3 separate regions of the Homo sapiens genome follow, and all the other regions are linked to region 2. The links are contacts of gene promoters, found by promoter capture Hi-C in blood cells and fetal thymus (Javierre and others, 2016). All regions are on one chromosome and are shown on one strand. Each heading gives the region's core, a stretch centred on a gene start or on the middle of the fragment in contact. The rest is flanking DNA. Distances are from core to core; before and after follow the strand shown.

Region 1 (4,010 bases), core at 1,100-3,599, 300 kb after region 2:
AAAGAATATAGGAATAATTTCATATAAAATGGAAACTAGAAGATTTTGAAAAAGAGAAGGCTTTTGGGATTTATTTCCTTTTTCTTTAGCTGGCATGATTTTTGGTGGTGTTAAAAGTCTCAAACAATGTCTTCTTTGTATGATGTGCTGAAAGAGCATTATGTATGGGATGTGTACATGTCTTTTTATATGTCAACAGTGTCCCCAGGAAAGCAACATCCAACCTCAGCTCCACTAAAAACCAGAGTCACACTGTACTGTATATTAGATTTAATAATTCAGGCTCAATAATATAGTGTCTTATGCCAAATATTGTCCACTAATATCCAAAAAGTAACCTAAACCACAAACCAGTCTGAGCTCTCGCTTTTCACAATTACTTCCTGTCACTATCATTAGATATCCACAACATAGGAAAAATCACTTTGACATAGTTACTCTAATATTAAGACAGCCATAATGCACTGGTTTTACACAAGACTCACCCAAGTTATACTATGGAGTAGCTATCACAGGTTTTAGAATGCTGTGGTGCATACTTGCTGCACAAGCCTAAGAGATGGAGAGAGTAAATGTGAATCCCCAAATTGTATATCTTCCATTCACATCAGACCCACGACTTTCCTTATCATTTAACTGGACATGGATATGATAATATGTTTATATTTGCTCCCAGAAAGTATATAAACTGTGATTCTAAAAGTTGGATCACTACCCCAATGGCACCAAACTAAAAACACATTTAAATTGTTATTTTTTCTTAAATTCAACTTAAAAGTATAAATGTACGTGTGGCATGACTGTTGAAAGTAATGTTGCCTCTTCAGGATTTCTACAGTAGTCCCTGATTGTAATATTTATTCATTTGGGACACTTATTTACCAAAATTATTCTTTACAGTTTTATGTTTTCATGTGTCACTGTCTTGATTAGATAATAAGCATGAAGCTGGTTAACAAGCTTAACCATAGCCTTACTTGATTGAAATCCTTCTTTGAGCTTGTCACACAGGTTATGCACATTGTAGGTCTCAATAAGAGGTTAATTTCTCCAATTTTTTTAGAATAAAAAAGTTGAAAATGACTCATCAGCTTTCCCTTCTTTCTTGCTAAAAAATCACAAAAATAAATGTGCAAACAGTATTCCACAGGTGAAAAAAATTCGAGTAACAAGTAAGACAAACAGAATTGCATTATCAGAAAAGAACAGAGAAGACTGAAAAAGTACAGTTTAATGCATATGAGTAAAGTGTATGTTTCAAAACATTTGTATTATTGGTTACATTTTTTACCTCTTACTTTTTATTTTTGACCTTTCATAGGTGTAGCCAAAATGAACTTTGATGAATAGGAAAAAAAGTCAGAACAAGATTTTTATTTATTTTTGTAGTCTTTATAGATTTTAATATCTTACAATGCGCAGGATTTCATATAGATACTCTAACCTATATTTTTATTCTTTGCAATTCCTCCTTGGTTAATAGCCATAAGGATCATTTATGTACTTATGCAGTGTTTTTACTGTTTCTATATACCACCCAACCTTGCTGGTTTTCCCCTATCCCTATGAATTTTCCCCTATCCATTTGGATTTTCCCCATTACCTCAAAATTTTCAATGCTTTATCTTGCAGAATCGTTCGGTTTTGTCATAATTTCTAAATAACTGAATCCAGGTGGAATAGAGATCTTTAGGTAACATAAATCATCCTCTGTAGAAGCAGTTTCTATTGGTTTATTAGTTTTCTTTTGTTGTCTCACTTTCACCTGAGTTAAATATGTATCTTGTAAACATATTTGTTGTTAGCACAGTGGTTTCCCATGACAAATCCCTATAGTATCAATACATTCCTTTCCATGTCCACTGCACATAATTTAGCATTTCCAAAATGGATATAAAATGAAATCATTTTAGAATACATTTCAGTCACCCAGACAAAATTGATTTAAACTAATATCTCTGACTATATAAAATACATTTACTATTATTCCAACATGCATTAAAAGCTTAGAACTATGTGATAAGGAAGATGAAGAGAAAGAGAATGAGGAACAGGTTGGGAGGAGGAGATGAGGGCATGGGGAGGACAAGAGGAAGAAGAAAAAGAAGTCAAAAGAAAAAGACAGTTATATGTGTGTGTCTTCGGTTCATAACAAGGTTAGTTTCAAAATGGTATTTAAATCCATTGTTTAAAATGTGGACACCTTTCTCCATAAAAGTAAGAGAAAAGTATGGGCAGAAGGTATCAAACTTATTCAGATTAGGGTAAGGCCTCGTTTGATAGTGAAAGAATCAGATTTGTAGGAGCGGGGGCTGTGACATCAGTTCTTTCATGACCCCTGAGGAGAGGAAGGGATGCAGGGAGGCAGAAGGTAGAAGTTTTGGTTGGGTTGGGGGCACAAACTCTGCTGAGGGGTGGGAGTGGTGAAGGAAAGACAGCACATTTGGGGCATGCAGAGTGGTCTTTAGTAATGAGTCTAATAAGACAATGCATCAGAATAAAACAGATCATTGTTGTGTCAAGTACGGGATTTGTAAATTGGAAATTAGTTAGTTTCTGTTCACTACCAGGGAAGTGGTATTTTTGTAACCTAAAAACTAAGGACTTCTGATTCAGACAGACTTGTGTTTTGGTTTAAGCATTGTTGTTTATCAAATATGTATTCATAAGTAAGTCAAACTCTCCAAGCTTCAGTTGCCTGATCAGCAAATTAGAGGAAATATAAAATTTACCAGTTCATTGTTACAGCTTAGTCATGTTCTTACCATCCCTGATATCTGTCTAATATTTATTAGGTATTCTTTCTATTATTATATCTCTAAAACATATTGTTTTTGAAAAATTTGTATATACTTTATGTACTTTGAATAAAATTTAGTTCTCTAGTTCCTCAAAATAGGTAACAGTTTTAACATGAAAAAAAATCACTAAACCTCTTTCTATTCTCTGTATTTATTGGTGACAAATTTTTTAAATTCTTTTTTGCTTGGAGAATAGATTCTATTAAAAATAATTCCATTTGCCTCTCTTAGGGGGTAAGAGGCCATTTATACTTCAGGGTATGATCTTTCAAGACAAAGGTTCATTAATTTTCGTTGCAAGGGGAGAGAAAAAAGGCCCAAATGTAGCCCTTCGAACCCATCAGATCATTTTCTTGATGGCCAATTCTTAACCACTCTCAACCCAGTTTCCCTAACTCTAAAAGGGTATTTTACCATCCTTTTAGGCAGGATATAAAGATTAATTAGTTAAGATTGCAAAGTGCTTTAAGTATGAAATGTTGTATGAGATAATAGGATAAATATTAATAATATCCTGCTAGAAGTACAGAGACAGCCATAGTTAGGTAACTAAGAAAAATAAATTGCAGTGCTTGGTATGAAATTGAAAATCACTAATGGAATGAAAGTTTGTTCATACTGGGAGCAGTGTTGCATCATGTATAATGTAATACCAGGTCATTTTCAATTGTTTTAATTGCCATGAGCAACTGATCTTTAGAGCTGTTCCTGACAAGCTTTAGCATGGCCCTAATGATCGTAAAACGGTGCCAAAGACCAGCATTATCCCCTATTGAACATTAAATGGTATCGACCCTCTTCTCTGGGTCCATCACTCAACAGACTCCTTAAAGTAATTCATGACACAATTAACATTAATTAACTTTACGAAAACCCCTCAAACTCTCTGCTGTTTTAAGACTTCAGACATTGGAGAAAGTAAAGAGCAACTAACAAAAAAGTTGTGAATCCTCTTGTGAGAGCCATCAATTAGGATAAGTAAAAGATTCCTAAATTTTTATAACCCTCATTTATCACTTGCCACTCCTGATGAGTTTATCCTGTGCAAAGATATCTTTAAAGCCATTCAGTTCAAAAAGAACCATTCATCTCTGTACTTCACATCCACTTTAAAACTGAGAGTGCAAGCTTCCAAATTCATGTCAGAGTAAACCAAGCAACACAAGTGATTACTGGGCTCTACAGAAATGCTACCCAAGTATGTCTCAT
Region 2 (4,504 bases), core at 1,298-3,797:
AAGCCACCGCAATACGTAGTAAAATCTGAGGCTTAACAGCGCAGCGCCTGAGAGTGCCAGTCCACTAAAGGGAGGGAGAAGGGGCGCAGAGCTTATGGGGGCCTGGGAAGGAGTGATAAGTCTTTGGAAATGGAAACTAAAGCTATCAGCCAGCGAAAACCATCAATATTCCTAAAAATATATAATACTAATAATACATAAAAGCTTTAAAAAACTAACAAGACACTGTGGGATACAAAAAAAGGTAGAAATGAAAATTACAGAATGTTAAGTGAAAAAACTGAAATCCATCTACAGTCGAACAGTTTGCACCTTTAAAAGCAATGACTTGAAGCAGCAAGCAAAAGTTCCCAGTCCTTAAGACTTTCTCCCCACTCTCAATTCTTTCTTTCCTCTAGTGCAAAAGCTGTCTAAGCAGTGCACGCCGGAATTATCCCCACGTGAGCCTTCCTTTAATTTCGGTCTTAATTTTTTTCTCTCTTGTTATTACTCCCAGACCCCAACCTCTTTTTCCTCATCTAGTATCTGTTTCAGGGACAGGACAAAGAGGAGGCAGCGAGCTGAAAAAAGTTTTGTGGTTTGGGATACTTGGGCCTTTGTTGTGTCATTTCCTCTACCCCTCCACGCCCCCAACCACGTGACCAAGAAGGGCCGGAATTTTGTGAATGGAGACGAAAGGTGGCTGTTGGGGCGGGCGGGACTCCGCCCCCTTCCCTAAAGCGGCCAATCTCCTAGCGGAGCGCTGAGGGGTCAGCAATAAACAACAATGGGCTGGGGATTTACGGCTCGTTATTGGCTGCGGGAAGAACCTCGCCGGGACCTAACCCGAAGCTCCGCCCCCTCGCGGTTACCCTGGATACCCGTCAGGCTCGGGCTGCAGAGAAGGTCTTTGGAAACTGTTGCTCAGATTACAGGCGCTGGGTTATTCCAGGAGTGCAGGGTGGTGGAGGACCCTTGTTATTGACCCCCTGCTTGGTTGCACCCTCAGATAGTACCCATGAGCTTCACTGTTCAGCCTCGGGGCCCAGGCGCTTCCTGGAATCTCTCCTTGGCCGGGGTTAAAATGCAGTTCCCGCTCAAAATGCTTATAGGTGCGCGCGTTGTGAACTCCGATTTAGTAGTTTCCGGGAATGCGCGGGGTCTGTCTTTGCTGTCCATAGTTATTGGTTGTTTTCCCAGTAATAAGTGTTGATTGTTTGTTTGTTTGCTTCTTTTTTAAGTAGATCTTTCTCCTGCCCAGGTCCGGGGTTGAGTGCTGTGCGCTCTTACACTCCATTTTAATGTGTCTCCATAACGTTCTATTTAAGGAAGGAAACTTTCAAATAGAAATTGAGAACTGCAGCACGTTTCCTAACGGGCGGAACAGCTGCCGGAAACGTCTTTTGGTCACTAGTTCTGGTCACAAATGAATTTCAACAGCATTGAGTCCCTGGTCCTATCCCCGCGGCCTCCCGTCCGCTGTTGGACACTGGCTCCTTAAAGTGACGCTTTACTGTTCTGAGTCCCATAGGAGGATCAGGGCAAGTGGCTTCAGAGATGCAGCCCTCACTGCTTAACGTCCTAGTTATTGTCCTTGAAACCCGAGCCATCTCACCGCTCGCCCCCAACCCTGGGCTCTGGCTGTTTAAAAGCTGGAGAGGAAGTGAAAGCGTCAAGTACAGTAAGTGACACCCTCCGCCTCCGTGTATACATAACAAAAGCTCAGGAAACGTGCGGGTTCTAGGATATACGAGCAACCCCAAGCACTCCCTCCTCCTCCCCACAGCCACAGTGGACTGGAAGTACCTTTTCCCAGTGCACACGTAGGGACCATTTTGACTTATACTTTTTCACCTAGCTTGCTCTGTTGTCCTCCCATCACAACCTCTGCTAATCAGCAATTCTGCATCTCCTAGGTGCCTTCCTTATAGATTCTTTATGTTTCTGTCCCACGAACGATAGGATCTAATTTTAGTTGAGGATGACTGTTTAAAAAATGTTTCGATAAACCATAATGGTGATGGTGGGTTTTGAAAAACGGGAAAATAAATTGGGCCAAAAGCTGAGTGGGAATGAGGATAGAGAGCGAGGTGAGCTCCTAGTCAGGGCAAGAGTAGAGAGGTTGGAGATCCTGAGGGGAGGGCAGCTGAATAAGGCGGTACGGGCTTTGTGGATCGCGGCTCTAAGGGTATACCAGAACCGCACAACAGTACTTTAAGGAAACCAGCCCAATAGTGGACCTAACACCCCAATAATGGGAACTGGCGACTCGAAACACACGGTTTCAGTATCCCCAGGCGCCTTAACAATAAGCAGCGGGTTACAGAGGAAATCGAGTCTCTCCGTGGCGCTTCCAGGCTGAGGACCCAGCGCCTACCGGCCGAGCACCCCCTAGGGCAGAGGGGCGAGGGAGACCCGCGGGAAGGGGCAGCAAGCCGCCTGATTGACAGCCCGAAATCTGATCTTGTGAAAGAGACGCGGAGCCAATGGGAGGCAGCGATCCATCAGTTTGGATTGGAGGCCCCTGGAGGAGAAGTAGAGGAAAAACCACCGAATTGAGCTCTGTCAGAGGCGCTTTCGGCTTCCAAGGGGGAAGTGCTGGGCTATAATTAATGTTTTTATTAAATTTGGAGGGAAGTTTTTGCAGCCTTTCGCCTAGCGTGGCCTTCAGGTGGGTCTTTCCAACAACTTTTTATGTCTCTCCAGATAATTGCATGGTTGTGGGTCGCAAAAACTATCCTGATGAAAGAGGTGTCTCCGTCTCTTTAGTCCCGTTAGGTGCAAAGCAAGTCTCGTTGATCGCCATTGCTAGTTTTGCACACGTTTGCGAATCAGAGCTGCCCGGGGTACACCGACCGCGCAGGGAAACATCGAGAGTGTAAATAAATACATCGCCTCTTGTTCGGATTTTTGCTACTACCGAAAATATGTAAATTGTGAACTCTGTTGGCTCTCTTTGGATCCAGGTGAAGGAGGCGGTGTAGGGAGGGTTATTTTTGTGAATGGGACTGTCGGAGGGTAATTAGCTATGCAAATTCAAGAGCTTCATTCATGATTTTTTTTTAAGCCTAAAAGCCATCTTGTTCCCCTCTAGGTTGATAGAAGTCCAGATCCTGAGGAAATCTCCAGCTAAATGCTCAAAATATAAAATACTGAGCTGAGATTTGCGAAGAGCAGCAGCATGGATGGATTTTATGACCAGCAAGTGCCTTACATGGTCACCAATGTGAGTGATCAGTTTGAAAGTTGCTGTTTATAAACTTGACTCCGTCGGGGGTGGGGAGAGGGAGAAAATGAGAAGGGAGGGGGCACGGGGGTTGGGATTGCAGATACTTATCTGCTTTGTTGCCACTGTAGGGCGACTCTGCTTCTAGAAGCCCAGTCTTCAAAATGAGCTTACCTTTCAGTGATTTGGATAAGGCATAGTTTTGTTTTTAAGACCCCTTTTTCTGATTAAAGTGCCCAACATGAGTGGAAGAGGAGATGGAGGGCAGCAGCAGCTGCTGCACTCAAAGTTTTTGGCTGGGTTTGTCTGCCACATTGAAAAGAATGAAGTTGAGACAAATGCTGACACTTTTTGTTTATATGGGGTGTTTTTGTTTCTTTTTTTTTTCTCATTTTCTCTTTTTTTTTTTTTTCATTTCTCTACTCTTTTTGCTTTTTTTTTTTGTGGGGGTGGGGTGGGGAGGAGGGGCTGTCCAAGAGAGAATAAAACCCACTGTTTTAATCTAGCATTGAACCAGCCTAAAAACAACTTTAAGTGTAAATGCTTCAGGTTGTTTTGATGCTGAGATACCATGAATATATGATTGATAAATAGTAATGTGCTAAGATCGGCACTGGGAAGCAACTCTCCCTGCCTGCTTAACATAAGCTTTCACTGTCAAATAAGTGAGAAAATGAATATTAGAGTTGATACTATGGACTTCTATTTTTCTATTCAGAGAAGATCCATTAGACTTATGTATGCATGTCTGTGTGTGTGTGTGTGCGCGCGCGTGTGCGTGTGTGTGATCTGAGGTTTACATTCTTTTAAAGGATTTTATCTTTCCCTTTGTAGAGTCAGCGTGGGAGAAATTGTAACGAGAAACCAACAAATGTCAGGAAAAGAAAATTCATTAACAGAGATCTGGCTCATGATTCAGAAGGTGAGGTTTGATTTTGGGCTGAATCCCCATTTTTTTACCTACACTCTCCACCCTGCTAAAAGAAAAGGAGCACTTCAGTCTTATCTTAAAAATAATAAACTTTGAAATTACTGAATCTAACTAAGACTTTAACTTGGAACGATTTACATAATGCGGCAGTTTGCATGGGAGACTATTTTATGGTCCTATCACAAAGTAATGAAAGAAGGAAATAAAAACTTCTCAATGACAACCTTCTTTTAATCATTGTTTTGTGTTTAAATACCTTTGTCCATGGGGCATATAACTCACCCCATTCACTAAGATAACAATTTAAAAATATCCAATACAGTGGGACAAATTCAGCAGCTATGTACACTGCTTACTTTTTTCTTTCT
Region 3 (4,321 bases), core at 901-3,400, 460 kb after region 2:
CAAGATGTTTACTATTCAGATTGTCCCACACTTAAGCTTCCATTGATAGCTGACTTCTAATGTAGAAATCTCCAATAAACCATGAGAAAAAAATTAATGAACTCTTTGACTAAAATTTAAGCAAGGCTAAGCTCCTGAAACTGGGCATGACTACTTACAACATTATGCTATTGTGTGTCTCCTAGTTATTAAAATAGTACAGGAAACATGTAGCATACCTGTTTGGAGGAAACAATTTTCACCTGACTTAAAGCTGGCAACCATCATTCTCAGCAAACTATCGCAAGAACAGAAAACCAAACACCGCGTGTTCTCACTCATAGGTGGGAATTGAACAATGAGAACACTTGGTTGCTGGAAGAGGAACATCGCACACCAGGGCCTGTCGTGGGATAGGGTGAGCGGGGAGGGATAGCATTAGGAAATACACCTAATGTAACTGATGAGTTAATGGGTGCAGCACACCGACATGGCACAGGTATACATATGTAGCAAACCTGCATGTTGTGCACATGTACCCTAGAACTTAAAGTATAATAATAAAAAAAAGAAAAAAGTCCATTATTTTCATATGAAAGCATTACTCTTTCATGGAATAGAATAAACTTTGCATAGATTTTAAGATAAAGCAAAGTCCACAGAAATTGTAGTTGTTACTTGCCTCTGGTTGCAGGAATGTGTTAGTAGAAAAGTTTGAGGAGCCGTGGTCAAGATTAAGAATATCAAACAGCTAAGAATGCTGCTGATAGAAAACAAAAGGTACATTGCTGAATGAGGTTTGATGTAAATTCATTAAGACAATGAACAGATTGAGATGAAGCTGCTTTCAGCAGAATCTGTAGGGAAAGTAGGCAGTATTCCTTTGTGATTTCAGTGATCTAAATCCGTGGCTTTTGCAGCCATATTATGAACATACAGGATCTTGTATACCGGAAGTCAGACAAAAGAGAAGAAAAATTTACATCATATGCTATGCTGAAGAAATAGTTCATACATACAAAAAACAACTAGCAGTCAGCGGTTGGCAATTGAAATTTAGGAGGTAAACAACACTAACTGTTAATTTTATCATGGCCCTTTATTTCCTATAAAGCTTATGTGGTCCATAGCAACACAGGTTTCACTGATAATAGCAAATAAACATTTAGCACTGTGGATGCAGTCACAAGCATTGAGATAATTTTGTTATAAACACATAATAATATGCACAGATGCATCTTTATTTTATTATATTATCACAAAGCATGTGTACATTTTATGTGAAAAACATCTTTTCATTATAGAGTTAATTCTGCAAAACTGAGTATCTTTTTTTTTCTCATTCAATTGTTTTATTTATTTGACACTAACGTTAGGCACCTATCAATGTGCCAGGCTCTGAGGACAAAAATAAATAAGTAAATAAAAAATAAATTAAACAGAAAAGACGAATACTTGAATTCAACAAGTTTATACTAGGGATGCAGTTAATTAGGCAGAGGGAAATCATACAATTATAATTGTCTCCAAAGGATCTGCTAGTAACTGAGAAAAGTTAACAAGTGGTCTTAAATTTCACGTTCTCCTGGCTAGCAGCTGAGGACAGCAACACGTGTTGGTGAACAACAGCTCTTAGAAGAAATAAGCAAGCAGACAGGCAGGAAAGATCTGCACTTGATGCTTAAGCATCCTTTGCTTCCTAATGTCGGAAAATATGTAAAGGGTGCACCTCTGCCACAGCTATTGGGCATCTCAAATGCGAAAAAAAGACCTAATTTTGACTTTGGGAGAAACTATTCTCACATGCAGACAACGACAGGGAAACGTGGAAGTACTCAGCCTGAAAAATGTATTCTGTGAAATACTCAGCAAGTTTGAAAATGTGTTTAGAATACAAATGTCTGTTATGAGTTATTTGACAGCTATCTTATCACTGATACAGAAAATTAGTTAAAATCCACAGCTTCCAATCTACTAAGATTAAAATTCCAAATAGAAGTTAGAAGATTTGGATTTTAAACTCGAGTTTATTCTCAGACTCCCTTTTAATATTTGGTAAATTTTTTTAACCTTTTTGGTTTCAAGTCTTCTAATTTTCCGAATGCTAGATTATTATTAAGAACTAATGAGGCCTAGATTCCATAGCTAATGTAAGAACGCTTCTGTAAAGACTCGATTACAAACCCAGTTTTGGAAAGATCTGGTCAATAGTAATAAAGAACCAACCTATCTGATAAAAACATTTTAACTATACCCAAATTCAGAACTTGCCCAAAAAGAAGCCTGGAGCCAGGATGAAATCAGGAATTCATAGTGTCCAAATTATAATACTTATGAAAATAACTTATATTTACTCAGAGAAGTGGTTGTTAGACTTTAACGTGCATCAGAATCACATGGAGGCTGGTTTAAACACAGATTGCTGGAGACCATTGTCAGAAATTTTGATTCAGGCGGTGGGGGGGATGGAGACAGACTAGGAACTAACAAGTTCCCAGGGGTAAATGATGTTAATGGTCCAGGATCCACACTTGAGAACCACTGAGTATTACTGGTAGGTTCTCAACTTACTTTGTGCAATTAAAAACAAAAAAAAATAAACTTAGAATACAATTATTATTTGATTTCCTCTCTCTGTATCTATTTTAATACAGGTGCATGCCATATATACATATAGATATACTATATACATATGCATACATATTTGTATTTATAATTTTATATATTGTACTTATTTGTTTCTATTTTAACCACTCAGGGACCAATTCCCCTGAGGTTAAAAAATATACCTTCAGTTAATGTTTGTTGTTAATTAAAATAATTTCTGAATGTAAGGGTCATAAGAGGTACTTGGCCGTCAATGACATGGAACTGCCATGACATGCCATTCAGTGAGTCAAGAAAACACCAATTCTTATTCTTCATACCAAGAGTTTAAATATAACTGACTGCCTGAAAATATCAATCAGGTGGAAGATGAGAAAATTTAAATGCTAGTATTTATGTTTCTGACCTTGGGAATTTCATTTTTTCATAAATCCAGACACCTCTATGCCATTCTAAAAGGCTTGACTTTTAAAGTAACATTGAAATAAACCATTTGTCAAAATGGATTATCTATAATTGATCGTTCTGTTAATGATTTTAGAACCTTCAAATTTTTGTATATAGAGTTTTTATAGAATGAGACACTCATGTATTGGCTTACTGACATATCACAAAGCTTAATACAATTATAAATTTAGAGTAAGTGCCCAAATTTAGTCATTTTTAAAATTTTTCCTGAGCACTGGCTTAAAAAATCTTATACTTTAAATCTCTTTGCATGTTTGTGCATGTATTTCATAAAGTATACATCCATGCATTTACATAATTATACAAATAAATGAAAACAAAAAATGAAAAAACATATTTGAAAATCTTTCTAAGAAGTCCATTTAGATTGTAATATGAAACAATGTGTCAGAAGTATCTCCTACCTTTCTAATTTTCTTATGTTTGTACCTTGTGTTATTTTTCATATCAGTAGCTGTGATTTATACATTTAAAATTTTTATGATATTTCTTTTTTTGTCATTTGTTTATTATATCAGCATATATTGTGGGAATATTTTCTTTGGACTTTTTTTTTTTTTTTTTTTTTGTAATTGACTAGCTTTCATCTCGGTTTGTGAAAGAGAACCAGCTGTTTTCTTGAAAGATAATTTTCTGAAGCTGTTGTGGGCCATAATTACACTGCAATTACACAGCAATATCCATAAAAGCAGATGAGGATTCTATGTGTCCTTTTACCTCATTAGAGGTTGCAGAAATGATAGATGCAGCCTATCCTAGTTTGACTACTGCCCTCTATTGGCAAAATCAATTTTTGGCATAATCCAAAAGATAGAAGCAATAAAAACAGAGATAGACTGTGCTTGTTTGCTTTTGCTTTGTTTCGTTTTCAAACCATAGTAGTATATTGGGTCACCAGTTTAACATTATCAAATATTTCAAAAACTTTTTTTTTACAATTACAATTTAAAACATACTTTTAAAACCTAGCTACTTAAAATTACTTAAACTAGTGTTATGTGAATTGGGGCTTTTTTACAGCACCAAACTACAGAGCACTAATCTTTTCTTCCTCACTGGAAACCTACTTGATCATATCCATCTTTTCAGTACAGAATCAGTTGGATCTTTTCCTTGTTCCCAGTATGAATCCTCCTCTTTGAAGCAACAGTCTCCAAGCAAATTGAGATTTTTTTTTTTTTTTTTTCCTCCTGAGATGGAGTCTCACTCTGTCACCCAGGCTGGAGTGCAGTGGCGCGATCTCAGCTCACTGCAACCTCCGCCTCCC

The links. The method cuts DNA at HindIII sites, captures the fragments that hold promoters and counts their contacts. A CHiCAGO score of 5 or more calls a contact.
Region 1: a fragment that was not itself captured here is called in contact with the fragment with the promoter of ETV1 in region 2 in 1 of 17 cell types (total CD8 T cells); the score reaches 5.2 in total CD8 T cells.
Region 3: a contact is called between a fragment that was not itself captured here and the fragment with the promoter of ETV1 in region 2, in 1 of 17 cell types (endothelial precursors). The highest score is 5.1, in endothelial precursors.

Annotation. Positions count from the first base shown.
Region 1 is chr7:13,692,261-13,696,270 of GRCh38, reverse strand. All of the region lies in intron 2 of LOC107986770 (a long non-coding RNA gene), which reads right to left. Among named protein-coding and RNA genes, the nearest start is that of ETV1, 300 kb to the left of the region's middle. The HindIII fragment of the contact is 683 bases long and covers 2,008-2,690 here.
Region 2 is chr7:13,987,709-13,992,212 of GRCh38, reverse strand. ETV1 (ETS variant transcription factor 1) reads left to right here and starts at 2,547. Exons shown (of 14, transcript NM_004956.5): 1 at 2,547-2,650; 2 at 2,749-2,945; 3 at 3,074-3,205; 4 at 4,040-4,127. The coding sequence starts at 3,161. RefSeq lists an enhancer at 526-1,027. The HindIII fragment of the contact is 3,649 bases long and covers 207-3,855 here.
Region 3 is chr7:13,524,799-13,529,119 of GRCh38, reverse strand. The region is part of intron 2 of LOC107986770 (a long non-coding RNA gene); the gene reads right to left. Among named protein-coding and RNA genes, the nearest start is that of ETV1, 460 kb to the left of the region's middle. The HindIII fragment of the contact is 2,109 bases long and covers 1,096-3,204 here.